Regions from separate parts of the Homo sapiens genome. Here all the other regions are linked to region 2. Evidence: promoter capture Hi-C in 16 types of primary human blood cells and fetal thymus (Javierre and others, 2016). All regions are on one chromosome and are shown on one strand. The core of a region is centred on a gene start or on the middle of the fragment in contact, and the rest is flanking DNA. Distances in the headings are between cores, read along the strand shown.

Region 1 (4,846 bases), core at 742-3,241, 540 kb after region 2:
TGTGCAAGATGAGGCCAGAGAGACTTTCTTACAACCCCACCCCCACCACTTATTTCTGGTGTATTTTCCTAGCTGGCCTCTTCATATCAAAGTCAGAAGTCATTCACATCTGCATGATATCTAATCCACATATTTTTACCTTTACTAGTTGAGAAAGAAACATATTATTTAAATTAGGCTAAGACTTAACGCTAAGGCCATGAGAAATTTTCTGCAAAGAAATGGGAGACTTCAGGGCCAGGCACAATGGCTCATGCCTGTAATCCCAGCAATTTGGGAGGCCGAGGTGGGTGGATCACTTGTGGTCAGGAGTTCAGGACTAGCCTGGCCAACATGGTGAAACCCTGTGTCTACTAAAAATACAAAACCTAGCCAGGCGTGGTGGCACGCACCTGTATTCCCAGCTACTCAGGAGTCTGAGGCAGGAGAATCGCTTGAACCCAGGAGGCGGAGGCTGCAGTGAGTCGATATCACACCACTGCACTCTACCCTGGGCGACAGAGCAAGACTCTGTCTCAAAAAAAAAAAAAAAAAAAAAAAAGAAATGGGAGACTTCAAACGAACTTAACAGACTACTGGATCTTGAAATTCCATGAGTATTGAATTTATTTTTATTGTTATGTGACAAAAAAAGATTCCATAACATCCTAAAAAAACCCATTTTATTAATACCCTCATTGTCATGACATTTCTCTTTCAATGTGGCACATGGAGGCCTCAGCATAAATACTGTCCATTTGGTAGTTGGACTCGGCAAATCACCACCTCCAGATAACCCACCAAGTCTGTGGAAGGCAAGCATGGGACCACACTGACCCCTAGCCCTTACCACCCAGGCACATGCGACATAGCCAAAGGATACTGGGTAAATAGCCTTGTAAATGGTGATTTTGTGTTTGTCATACAAGGTATAAATTTCTAGTTATATAGATTTTGCCATTACTTTTAATGGCAAAAACTGCAATTAAGTAGAGTGATTAGTATTTTTATGTCCTGATGTCAGTACATGTACCCCATTTTCCCTATAAAATTATTTTGATAAATTATGCTGAGGAAAATTATCTGTAAGATAAACATAGCTTATGCTTACTCTGAACAGCCTGTTCGATTCCTCTGAGTCTGGCATAGGCAGTATTTATATCCAGAGTAAAGTTGTCAACTTGCTCTTGACTGAGACGACGAAATTGTAATTCTTGTTCAGAGAGTTTCTCAGACAGGTTCTGAAATAAAACAGAAATAGTTCCAGAAAAAAGTGATACTCAATGCATGTCATGTAACTGTGTAATCTTCCAGCAACTACTTGCTGAAGCAAAGAGGGCCTTAGAGTTGTCACGAAATTCCTACATTTTGTGTAAAGTTTCAAAAATGTCCTGACTCATATTTGATGTATATAATATATTTTTTTTTTTTTTGAGATGGAATCTTGCTTTATTGCCAGGTTGGAGTGCAGTGGCACAATCTTGGCTCACTGCAACCTCCGCCTCCCAGATTCAAGTGATTCTCCTGCCTCAGCCTCCCAAGTAGCTGGGATTACAGGCATGCATCACCATGCCAATTATTGTATTTTTAGTAGAGATGGGTTTCACCATGTTGGCCAGGATGGTCTCGATCTCTTAACCTCGTGATCCGCCCACCTCGGCCTCCCAAAGTGCTGGGATTACAGGCGTGAGCCACCGTGCCCGGCCGATGTATATAATTCTTTACAGGTTTACTGATGGAACCTAATATTAGAGGAGGCATACCAAGAGAAGAGAGAAGGCTGTTAAAGTCAGAAACAAACTGCCAACTGTATTTTATTTTTGAGACAGAATCTTGCTCTGTCATCCAGGCTGGAGTGCAGTGGCACAACCTCAGCTCACTGCAACCTCCACCTCCCAGATTCAAACGATTCTCATGCCTCAGCCTCCGGAGTGGCTGGGATTACATGCATGCACCACCATGCCCAGGTAATTTTTGTATTTTTAATAGAGACAGGGTTTCGCCATGTTGGGCAGGCTGGTCTTGAACTCTTGTCCTCAAGCGATCCACCCGCCTCAGCCTCCCAAATTGCTGGGATTATAGGTGTTAGCCACTGTGCTCAGCCACAAATTGTCAGCTTTAGAAAGTAAATTATCTGTACTGCAAACCTAAACATAATAATTAGATTAAATTATATTCTAATATCTTGTATTTAAGAGCTTATACATTAATTTTTCTCAGAAAAATATCCAAATAGAATTTAAAATACCTTTTCATACTGACATACATCGCGATTCTCTGGAAGATTTTACTTAGAAAACCTCAATATCTTCTTGCAAGACAAAGTAACAAGTTAATATTACTGTAAATGATTTCTTGAATAGAAACTATGATTACAGGCATCCTGATAATTTACTGGGATTTCAAAACTTCTCTGGGAAATTACCTCAGTTATAAAAATCTAAGCAGTACCATGCCATCTATAGGAGGAAGATACACATGTCAAATATTACTGTCTGCATTCCTGAAATCCCCTTTACCAACTCTCCTTAAAGCTCTGAAGATTCCAAATGACTAGAATATATATTTTAAAAACACATCTGATCATGAACACACAGGTACACCATTATGTAAAAAGAAGCAGTTTTGTAGACATACAAGGAGATTTCCAAATCTTCGACATCCTCAGAGTACATTAAAAGGAAAGGAGAGTCTCTTAATCCTGTCAGGAAGAGGGGTGTGGCTGAAGGGAGTCCAGGTCCTCACCTGCTCAAATTCAGACTTCAATTCCTGTTCTTGTACCCTAAGGACATCTCGCAAGTGATCAGTGTGGGCAGCTGCCTGTCGGCGAAGCTGGGTTCTCATTTCATTTTCCATGGCATCTCTGACTTCTTCTATCTGTGAAACCAAACATAGTAGTTATTAGTTTTCAATTCTCCACATATACTTTTAGGAAAACAGAAAGACCACTATCAACCATGACAACAGCAGCTTCCATATCCTGAACGCCTCTAATGTGCCAGGCATGTGTACACTTCTACTTCTCATGTGAAACGGAAAACTAAACCCTGGAAGGTGATTCAAACAAGATCACACAGCTGTGGCAAAAACCAGATTTCAAACAAAGGTCTCTCTCACCCCCAAACTTGTGGTTTTTCCACATCACCAGGCTGCCTCTCATATAAAACACTGCCATTTCCTGAATCACATGCTCCTCTGAGAAATAACTAAATCCAGGATATGAAAAAAAGTAACTATATACTTGGAATCAAGCGTAGCTTTACTACAACCATCTGTGTGACCTTGGGGAAATGATTTATCTTCTCAAATCTCCACTTTCTCATTTGTGAGTAATAATGCCTACTTTGAAGAATCATTAAGAAAATTAGTTGGCCGGGCGTGGTGGCTCACACCTGTAATCCCAGCACTTTGGGAGGCTGAGGCAGGTGGCTCATGAGGTCAGGAGATTGAGACTATCCTGACTAAAATGGTGAAACCCCATCTCTACTAAAAATACAAAAAAAAAATTAGCCGGGTGTGGTGGCGGGTGCCTGTAGTCCCAGCTACTCGGGAGGCTGAGGCAGGAGAATGGCGTGAACCGAGGAGGCAGAGCTTGCCGTGAGCCAAGATTGCGCTGCTGCACTCCAGCCTGGGCGACAGAGCAAGACTCCATCTCAAAAAGAAAAAAGAAAAGAAAATTAGTAAGTATCTGGTAGTTATTGACATAGACTTGACATAGACTTCTAAACAAAGAAAACTGCTTATTTTTAAATGAATTTAAATTCAACATGGGCCAAAAAAAACCAAAAAATATACCTTGCCTAACAAATAGCCATAGGTCACTTTACAAATTACTTAACACTGATTACCTGAAATCCAGAACTTATTTTTTCTCAGAAACAATATAATAAATCAATGAATCCATTCAGTCAGTGCATAAGTATTTATGAAGTGCTACTAGCCCTGTGTGCCAGGCAGTGCCTACTATCTGTACGGATCCAATGGTGCTTAGGGCAGACGAACTTCTTGCTCTCACAGTGTATATCTCAATGGAGGCAGCAGACAGTAAACAAAAAAGACATCTGAGATTGTGATACATATTTCTACATATGACTGAGCAGGCAAGGACCTGTTGTGAAGCATCAACACCCCTTCAACCTCCTTTTCCCCCACCTTACATTTAAAATAAACAGGGCAACATAACAGAAAGTAATACAGAGACTCTACTTTGGACTGAAGGGATAGGAAATCTCAGTCTTGCTAACAAAGTGACATCTAGGCTTAAAACTTAAGCTTAGAGCTCAAGGTTTAAACAGAGAGGATAGAACAATGTACTAGGCAGAGAAAACATAAAGGTCCCAAGACAAAAGATATAGTCAAGGTACAGACAAAAAATACCAGGGTGCCTGGAGCAGTGAAATGGCTCATGGCATGCAGTGATCAAGAAGCCTTTTGGGTACTGGTTAAGAATTTGGAATTATATTAAATGAAATGGGTAGTCCATGGAGGATTTCCAGCAGTGTAGTGTCTGATTCGACTATGTTTTATTTGCCTGCGTAAATAGACACAGAAAGAAGGGTATGAAGAAAGGGCAAATTGGCTGGGCATGGTGGCTCACACCTGTAATCCCAGCACTTTGGTGTTTAAATTCCTTGGGGAAGGCCGGGCATGGTACCTCATGCCTGTAATTCTGGCGCCGTGGGAGGCCAAGGCAGGTGGATCACTTGAGGTCAGGAGTTCGAGACCAGCCTGGCCAACATGGCAAAACCCCGTCTCTACTAAAAATACAAAAATTAGCCACATGTGGTGGCATGCACCTGTAAGTCTAGCTACTCAGGAGGCTGAGAGGCACAAGAATCACTTGAACCTGGGAGGCAGAGGTTGCAAT
Region 2 (4,604 bases), core at 720-3,219:
TCCAGGTGCCTCCGCTTATTAGCTGTGTGACCTGGATGAGGAAGACTGAGCCTGTTTCCTCACCTATAAAATGGTGAAAACAATACCTGCCTCACTCCTGGGAGGATGAAAAGAGACAATGCATATAAAGCACTCAGCAGAGTGCCTGCCCCACAGTAACTGTCAAGTAGTGTTGTTATTAAGTGGCTCTTAGGATACTTATTGTTCCTGAGACCCAAGGACAGCTCTTTGCTTGAGGGGCTGTCTGGGAGGCCCTTAGATCTCCCTGACCGGCCCAATGTCCAGGCCTTACCTGATGAGGGGGACATCGTCCAGGGTGCAGCAGGTCTTGGGACCCCCTTGCTCAGCAGGGTCAGGAGGGCAGGACTCGTTGTAGGACCTGGCAGGCAGGACAGGGAGTAGACTGGGGGAAGGGACTGCCCCCAGGCCCTTGGCCTATAGCCTCAGGCCTCAAAGAGGACTCTCTCCCAGACCTCCCCTACAGGGACAGAAGATCCCACTCCCCAGTGCCCGCCTGAAGCAGTAACCAAAGGGGCAAAGGGATAGTGGGAAGTGGGTAGGTGGCAAGAAGCCATGCCTGGGGACCAATTTCAGAGAAGAGCAGTGAGGCTCAGGGTTGCAGTCTGGCTCGTGGCAGCCTCAGGCCCAAGAGGGGACAGAGATGAAGGAAGCTTTAGAGCAAGGTTGTCTGCAGAGTCCTTCATACCAGTTCTCCACAGGGCATACATGGTGGTTCATCACAGCCATGGCATACCTGTGGGAACAGAACTGTCACCCTGGCAGCCTTCCCGAGCCCCACTCAACCCACCCCATGACCCTTCTCTTCAACCTTGATTTCTGGCCCCATTCAGCCTCATTATTGTTGCTGGGGACTCAAGTTGAGGTCCCTAAGGCTTGATGCCACACCAGCACCTGCAGCATGCCCCCAGCTACAGGCCCTCTGGAAATTGCCCTGGCTAGAAGTATATTTGTCAGGGCCACCCTGCTGGACAGCAGTGGTGCCAGCTTGTCCCAAGGGGCTGTGTGCCCAGGCACCAAGTCAGGCTTTTGAGACACCCAGAGTGACCCTGGGTACCACCGTGGCTATGACAGGACAAGAGACTTTGTGTGCGTCATCAAGCTCCTGTTGCCCCCCGGGCACCCCCCTTTACTCACACAGTCCATATGCCAGTGATGGAGAACGCTGACAGGCTGACAGGCAGGAGGATCCAGGCGGTCATGAGGGAGGGGAGCCAGGGTGGTGGTGGTGTTGGGGGGAGGACAAGAGGTAGATGGGGAAGTGGGGGCGGACCAGCTACCTTGAGATGTTTCTGCCACAACCATCAGCTGTCCTGGCCTGGTGGAGAGAGATCAAAGTCCAGGAGTGGGTAACTGGCCGGGAAGGGGGAGGGGAAGGGGGTCAACACCTTATCCAGCGCTCCCGTTGGGTCTCTGAGCGTCCAAAGTTTGGGCTGAGCCCACGGCAGAACGTGAACACCCTCTGGCACTGGGGGCCTCCGCGGTCAACCCAAATGCCACCGGCGTGCTGAGAGACGCAGGCGGACCGTAACATCTGGAAGGGAGTTACCCTCCTTCTGAGGGACCAGGGCTGGGAGAAGGGCTGGACAACCGAAGAGGCCACGCCAAGGAGAGGCTGGGTGCCGGCCCAGTGGAGCGGTGGCGAGTCGGCGGCGCGCAGGCAACCACCTGACCATCGGCGCCCTGGGCGAGGGGCGGGTTCACGCGGAAAGCCCAGCCCGGCCCGGCCCCCGCTCGCCTGGGCGCGGGGACCCCGGCTGGGGCCGGACCCTGCGGCCGGCGACCCCCCAGGACCCGGGACGCGAGAGTCCCCAGGTGATTCCTGGAAGCCCGGAGGAAGGGAAGGAGCCCAGTACGCACCTCCCCGGAGCGCCCCGCCGCCGCCGCACCCTGCTCGGCCCCCTCGTGGCGCCGACTCTAGCTGCGGCCCTCGGAGCAGCCCTGAAAGGTTTAAAGGGCCGAGCGGCCCCGCCCCTGGAGGCCCCAGGCCTCGCCGCGCCGCCCGCCGGGACGTGGAGTCCGCGCAGCCCCGGCCTCGGTGCCCGCGCCCTGCCCGAGACTACAACTCCCGAGCCCCCGCGCCCGCGTCACGGGGGAAACGTGGGCGGTGTCCCAACTTCGGAGGACCTGGGCGCGGAGGGCTGTGGCGTGAAGACCGCTCTAAAACCGAGATGACTAGAGGTTCCGTTTAACCGATTCCTGCCGGGGAAGCGTCAGCAGGTGGGGATCTCGGGGCAGCCTGCATTCCAGCTCTACCTGGGATTGTCGCCGTGCACATGGCTGGAGGAGCGTCTCTCCGCCACTGCGCACATTTTGCAGCCTGCACCGGCCAACGGTGAGTCCTCTAGGAAGCTCTCTCAACGTGGCGCCCCATGCCTGCCTCTGGCCAGGGCTGCGGTGGGTCCAGAGAAGCAGACACAAAGACTTGGCTGTTTCTTAAGAAATCCAAGCGCCTGGGATTTGGCTTATGGTTCCTGTGGCTCAGCAAACTCCGGAGGAGGGCTGCTTTCATTAGATACTTTTTGCTTTCCTGCATACAAGTACACAATGTACTAGCCAGAAATCAGTGTCCAAGACGTGTTTCCCGACTGATCAACACTTATTTGAAATAAGACGGCAGAGACCAGAGGACATCCATTCTAAATAGACACATGTAGGTGTCAGTGTAGAGTAGGTAAGGATTAACATGGCCAGTGTTGGTAAGCAAAGAGGGGAAGGTGAGAGACCCGGAGGAATCTGGGAAAAGGAAACAGGATAGTGTGGGAAAAATTACTGACCAGCTTCACCAAAAACTTACAGGCTATGAGTGCATTCCTGGATGTTTCTTTTTTTTTTACTTTTTCTTTTTCTTTTTTTTTTTTTTGAGACGGAGTCTCGCTCTGTCGCCCAGGCTGGAGTGCAGTGGCGCGATCTCGGCTCACTGTAAGCTCCGCCTCACGGGTTCACGCCATTCTCCTGCCTCAGCCTCCCGAGTAGCTGGGAACTACAGGCGCCCGCCACCTCACCCGGCTAATTTTTTTGTATTTTTAGTAGAGACGGGGTTTCACCATGTTAGCCAGGATGGTCTCGATCTCCTGACCTCGTGATCCGCCCGCCTCGGCCTCCCAAAGTGCTGGGATTACAGGCGTGGGCCACTGCGCCTGGCCCGGATGTTTCTTAAATTATTGCAAGGGTGGAAATACTTTCACATATCAGAAGTGTGCCTGGCATTCTGTCTCAAAGGCGGTCCCAGCATCTGTTGGAGCCCTTGTGAGATGACAGATCATCACCTGAATGGTGCACAGGCGCAGGTTGCCCAGCGTGGGGAGCTGAAGTTTGGCAACACTGGTGAGGCAAAGGCTATGTGAAACAACAGGGTCCTGTGCTTTAGAGAAGTAGAGCAGAATAAACTGCACAATGACTTGAAGAGGGAGAAACCTTCTTGGACCCAGTGGAAAGCAGAAATGGAAGCAGAAAACCTGTTGGAGAGCCCTTTTTCTTTTGAGACAGAGTTTCACTTGTTGCCCAGGCTGGAATGCAATGGTGCAATCTCGGCTCACTGTTACCTCTGCCTCCTGTGTTCAAGTGATTCTTGTGCCTCAGCCTCCCGAGTAGCTGGGATTACAGGTGCCTGCCACCATGCCCAGCTAATTTTTTTATATTTTTAGTAGAGACGGGGTTTCACCATGTTGGTCAGGCTGCTCTTGAACTCCTGACCTCAGGTGATCCGCTCGCCTTGGCCTCTCAAAGTGCTGGGATTACAGATGTGAACCACCGTGCCCAGCGGGAGAGCCCTGTCCTTAAACACATTAGGACAAGTAGTTAAAACAGGGCCAAGAAGTATGGCTGTGTAGTGATCACTGTACAAGCACACCTGGCTGAATAAACCAGTGGGGGATAAAATCCAGCTCACCTGCCGCTGGCTATGCTTTGTGCCTCAGGACAAGGGTGTGCTTCCTTGCTAATTGACAGGAACCATCTTCCTGCCCAACTGCATTCCCACTGCGTAGGCACCTTATCTGCCCAATGGGGCTGTGAACCCTAATTGGAAGCTTTGCAATTCTTAACACTATATCTTCTTGAGCTGGGTTTGAGTCCCTATCCAATCAAGATGAAGGCCTGAGAGGACTACTCAAGTTCTAACATGATGTGGGGGCAAGGCATAGTAGTCCAGATCCGGGACATGAGGCAGCTTTTGGCTTAGTATGACAATCTAATAGTTCCTAAAATAGAATTATCCCAGGATGGAGCTCCGTATGACAGAAGGGCTCTTCATAGGTAGTTGGTAGGGGGAATTGTGTATCATGTAAGAAGTAGGACCAGATGTCTTTAAAAAGACCTTCCAACTCTAATGCTACATGAGTCTGTCTAGTTGTTATGTTCCAACAGGGACAGCTCTTAAAATAGTGTGGCAAAGCAAGAGATGAGATTTCCAGTGCTGACTCGGTGGTGGAATGACTTTAGGGCAGGTATTTAACCTCCACTTCCCCAAGTACACAAGTTATTTCACAACTCTTGGCAAAAACAGTGCTGTAAAAATCGTAAGTTTATTTGTTAAAAAAAATACTGTATTTGAAAAGTACCTTCCTTCTGGGATTTTCAAATAA
Region 3 (4,331 bases), core at 1,753-4,252, 520 kb after region 2:
CCTTTGCCTTTCTGATTTTGAGTAGTCTGACTGGGAAATGCATTCCATTGCCTTAACTTTTATTTCTTTTGATGATTATTCATTTCAGGAAGAGGAAAATGATGAGACATCTAGGAGGAAAGCTGGTCATCAGTTTGGAGTTACATGGCGGTATGTCACACGTAATTAGAACCTTGAATTACAGTGTCTTACAGTGCATGGAATATGCCCCATCACCCTGTGAAGATGTTTTCTTGTGATGTTCTAAAATAATTGATTTTTATTGTGCAATATAAATTTCACTATTTGTATTCATACACATTTAGACCGTTTTTCAATAAGGTCTTTATCTCCATTCAACAACACAAGAATCTGTTGAGACTTTGACCCTTTTTTTTCCCTCATCTGTTTAACTCAGCATAACTTTCATATGGTATGGTTCCTTTGGTAGTTTCATTAACAGTGCTACCTTGGAATATATACCTCTAATTCTGAAAGATTTAATACTTTTGTTTACTAAAAATATCATGGACACTAGAGTGTACTGCTAAATTAAGACCACTGACAACATGTAGACATACACAGCAGTTTGAATGAAAGGTAATAACTTAATTATATTGGAGAATTAGCTGGGTGTCTAAAAGGAAGACACTTCATGTGAATGTCTGGAGAGGGAAAGCTACCATGATTATCTAAAATTGTTATTGAAGTGATGAATTTGATAGGATGAAAGATTAAATTCCTTGGGGTAGGCTGGACGCAGTGCCTCACACCTGTAATCCTGGTGCCGTGGGAGGCCGAGGCAGGTGGATCACTTGAGGTCAGGGGTTTGAGACCAGCCTGGCCAACATGGTGAAACCTCATCTCTACTAAAAATACAACAATTAGCTAGGCGTGGTGGCACGTGCCTGTAATTCCAGCTACTCGAGAGGTGGAGGCAGGAGAATCACTTAAACCCAGGAGGTGGAGGTTATGGAATGAGAGAAGAGTTAAAAGTACATATGCTAGAATATGACCAGAAGGATCCAAAAGAAACCGTTTTGCCTCTGGGAAGTAGTATCTGAAGATTGAAGAAAGGTGAGGAAACTTTACTAGGGACTTTGTCATACAGTTGCTTCTTGTTTTTAATAGCACAGATATTTATATACTTGTTTATAAACTTTTCATTTTCAATTGTAATTCTGCCACTTAACCTGCGAAGCCCTGACAACACATTAAGATCGTTAAGTCTTGATTTTCCCCATTTTCAAAATGATAATAACCATAATACCCTGTAAGAATTGAGATAATGTATAGAAAGTACTTGGCACATTGCCTAGAACATAATAAACCGTCAGTAAATGGTGGTAGCTCTCATTGGTATTTCTTATTGCCTGGGTTCACATTTACTCTCTTGTGTCTAGAGCAAAAAACAACGCTGAGAGAATCTTTTCTCTAATGCCAGAGAAAAATGAACATTCCTATTGCACAATGATCCGAGGAATGGTGAAGGTACATTTGTTTTATTTATTTTTGTCTTTCATTTCCACCGATCAGGGTGTTTCAGCCTCAGAACTACTAACATTTTGGGTCAGGTAATTTGTTGTGGGGTCTGTCCTGTGCATTGTAGGATGTTAGTAGCTCCCTGGCTTCTACCCACTGGATGTGAGTAGTGTACTCCTCCCCCACTTTCAGTTGTGACAAATAAAAATATGTTTAGGCATTACCAGTGGATAGAAAATCCCACTGCACTAGAGTATGAGCTTCATGAGAACAGGAGCCTGATCTATTGAGCCTGAGCTATATTACCAAACTCTAGGACAGAAATGTGCAAGGACTTCTTAAGTAAATGAATTTGATGATGCTTAATTTTTCCTTTTCCAGCACCGAGCTTATGAGCAGGCATTAAACTTGTACACTGAGTTACTAAACAACAGACTCCATGGTGAGTTTGAGAACTCCCCTCTGTCCCTTTCTCCATTTCCTTCTTTTAATTGTCTGTGTGAAGGCTTTGGATCGTGCCTCAGTCATTGGCCTACACTTTACCTTTTCCTGAGGCGTAGATGATTGAAGCAAGAGTAGAGATCCAGAGAGGAGAGTAGTTTTCCAGTTTTGTGGACATGTGATTAGTCAAGGGACACATAGGAATGACTGCTTTGCCTTAAACTCAGCCATTTAGGGATTAATCTTCAACCCCAAATTTTATCATTTTATTATTTTACAGCTGATGTATACACATTTAATGCATTGATTGAAGCAACAGTATGTGCGATAAATGAGAAATTTGAGGAAAAATGGAGTAAAATACTGGTAAGGAGGAATCCTCAGTTTATTTTTTAATAGGGCTTAAATACTCTTTACCAGAAATACATGGGCTGGCCAGGTGTGGTGGCTCAAACCTGTAATACCAGCACTTTGGGAGGCCGAGGCGGGCAGATCACCTGAGGCCAGGAGTTGGAGACCAGCCTGGCCAACATGGTGAAACCCGTCTCTACTAAAAGTACAAACAATTAGCTGGGCGTGGTGGTGCACGCCTGTAATCCCAGCTACTTGGGAAGCTGAGGCAAGAGAATCTATTGAACCCGGGAGGCGGAGGTTGCTGTGAGCAGAGATCGCACCACTGCACTCCAGCCTGGGCAACAGAGCAAGACTCCGTCTCAAAAAAAAAAAAAAGAAAAAGAAACAGAAGTACATGGGCTGGAGACAGCATTTATGAGCATGTGTATGGCAGTCACTGTGTAGCAGTTACCTGTTCACTACCCTTTCCGCAGCCCTGGGACTCAGCTGTGTCTGGCACATAAGAAGAAAAAGTTGCTTGACCGAGAGTATAGAGCTAGAATTCTGGACCATTTTATTCATTTATTTTTCATAATAGTTTTTCTGTTACAAAGTAATGCATATTTGCTGTCAAATCCTATCAGGTGTAATTTCAAAAAGTTGAAATCACTGGATTGATTCTCGCCTAGTAACTTAAGAATAGAAACGGCTGGGCACGGTGGCTCATGCCTATAATCCCAGCACTTTGAGGCTGAGGCGGGTGGATTACCTTAGGTCAGGAGTTTGTGACCAGCCTGACTAACATGGTGAAACCCCGTCTCTACTACAAAAATACAAAAATTAGCCGGGCATAGTGGTGCTCGCCTGTAGTCGCAGCTACTCAGGAGGCTGAGGCAGGAGAATCACCTCAGCCCACGAGGCAGAGGTTGCAGTGAGCCAAGATCGCACCACTGCACTCCAGCCTGGGCAAGAAGAGCGAAACTTTGTCTCAAAAAAAAAAAAAAACCAACCACTTTTTTATATCATACTAGTCTATTATTTTTGCGTCTTTTCTTGGAAAACTCTCCTAGGTAGAAGACTGAAGACAGTTGACCACCTCTATCAAGTGGGGTGGGTGTTTGAATTAGCAGGCTTCTTTAAAAGGCAGAATCATGGAACCTGCTAATTAATAAACAGTTCTTAAAAGAGGGATATAGTTACTAACCTGCTTTAAACATAAGCAAGAAAGCTAAATTCTTTACTTTGTATGAAACATAGATTATTGGACAGATTACCCAGGCATGAAAGATACTTCTTGTTTTTTATTCACCTAGGAGCTGCTAAGACACATGGTTGCACAGAAGGTGAAACCAAATCTTCAGACTTTTAATACCATTCTGAAATGTCTCCGAAGATTTCATGTGTTTGCAAGATCGCCAGCCTTACAGGTTTTACGTGAAATGAAAGCCATTGGAATAGGTGAGGATGCGCCCTTGAGTTCTCTGAGGACAGAGACTGTGCCAGCCAGAGGTTTCAGGGCTACATAAGCAAAGAGCTTTAAATTATTCTTGTGCTTACATAATATGTTGGAAATTTTCTTTCCATGTTTGGCACATTTACTTACATGTACTTATTATAGTGGGAGTGCCTTTATCATCTTAGTGTTCATTAGTATTTTAGGTACTTTGTTTATGGATCTGTTGAATCTGAGGAGAAGTGATTGCTTTGAGTTAGCTAGTTTTAAATTCATGACATTTTCCCAACATAATTAGGTATTTGAACCTAAGTGTGTGCTAGTGTATTGTATATTTTTCATTAATTACTTTATTGAAAGTTGCTTTGGGAATCAATTCACTTCAATATATTTTACTGTTCTCAGTGAAGAATGTGACTAATAAGTATTTGGACTTTCAAAAAGTGATACAGTCTTTGTGATAGTTTTTTACCTTTACATTAATGAGTTGGAAAATAACTTTGTTCAAAGGAATAGAAATGCATATTTTGCTTAAATATTAACAATATGTTTTTAATTCAGTGTGTCTCAGTAAACTATGTTTTGGATTGCTGTGTTTTTACCTCATTGTTTATTTTTTCTGTCTACCTGGTAATTTGAGAAC

What was found. The method cuts DNA at HindIII sites, captures the fragments that hold promoters and counts their contacts. A CHiCAGO score of 5 or more calls a contact.
Region 1: a contact is called between a fragment that was not itself captured here and the fragment with the promoter of TMEM150A in region 2, in 1 of 17 cell types (monocytes). The highest score is 5.3, in monocytes.
Region 3: a contact is called between a fragment that was not itself captured here and the fragment with the promoter of TMEM150A in region 2, in 2 of 17 cell types (neutrophils and monocytes). The highest score is 6.7, in neutrophils.

Annotation. Positions count from the first base shown.
Region 1 is chr2:86,144,978-86,149,823 of GRCh38, forward strand. It overlaps IMMT (inner membrane mitochondrial protein), which reads right to left. Exons shown (of 15, transcript NM_006839.3): 13 at 2,725-2,856; 14 at 1,091-1,220. Among named protein-coding and RNA genes, the nearest start is that of SNORD94, 12 kb to the left of the region's middle. The HindIII fragment of the contact is 4,515 bases long and covers 1-4,249 here.
Region 2 is chr2:85,600,729-85,605,332 of GRCh38, forward strand. It overlaps TMEM150A (transmembrane protein 150A), which reads right to left and starts at 1,970. Exons shown (of 8, transcript NM_001031738.3): 1 at 1,879-1,970; 2 at 1,156-1,336; 3 at 707-754; 4 at 293-379. The coding sequence starts at 1,220. C2orf68 (chromosome 2 open reading frame 68) reads right to left here. Exons shown (of 4, transcript NM_001013649.4): 4 at 4,526-4,604. It also overlaps a transcript of USP39 not described here. RefSeq lists silencers at 1,440-1,499, 1,600-2,179. The HindIII fragment of the contact is 3,378 bases long and covers 670-4,047 here.
Region 3 is chr2:86,123,613-86,127,943 of GRCh38, forward strand. PTCD3 (pentatricopeptide repeat domain 3) reads left to right here. Exons shown (of 24, transcript NM_017952.6): 9 at 89-150; 10 at 1,383-1,470; 11 at 1,843-1,903; 12 at 2,183-2,268; 13 at 3,549-3,693; 14 at 4,329-4,331. Among named protein-coding and RNA genes, the nearest start is that of SNORD94, 10 kb to the right of the region's middle. The HindIII fragment of the contact is 9,969 bases long and covers 1-4,331 here.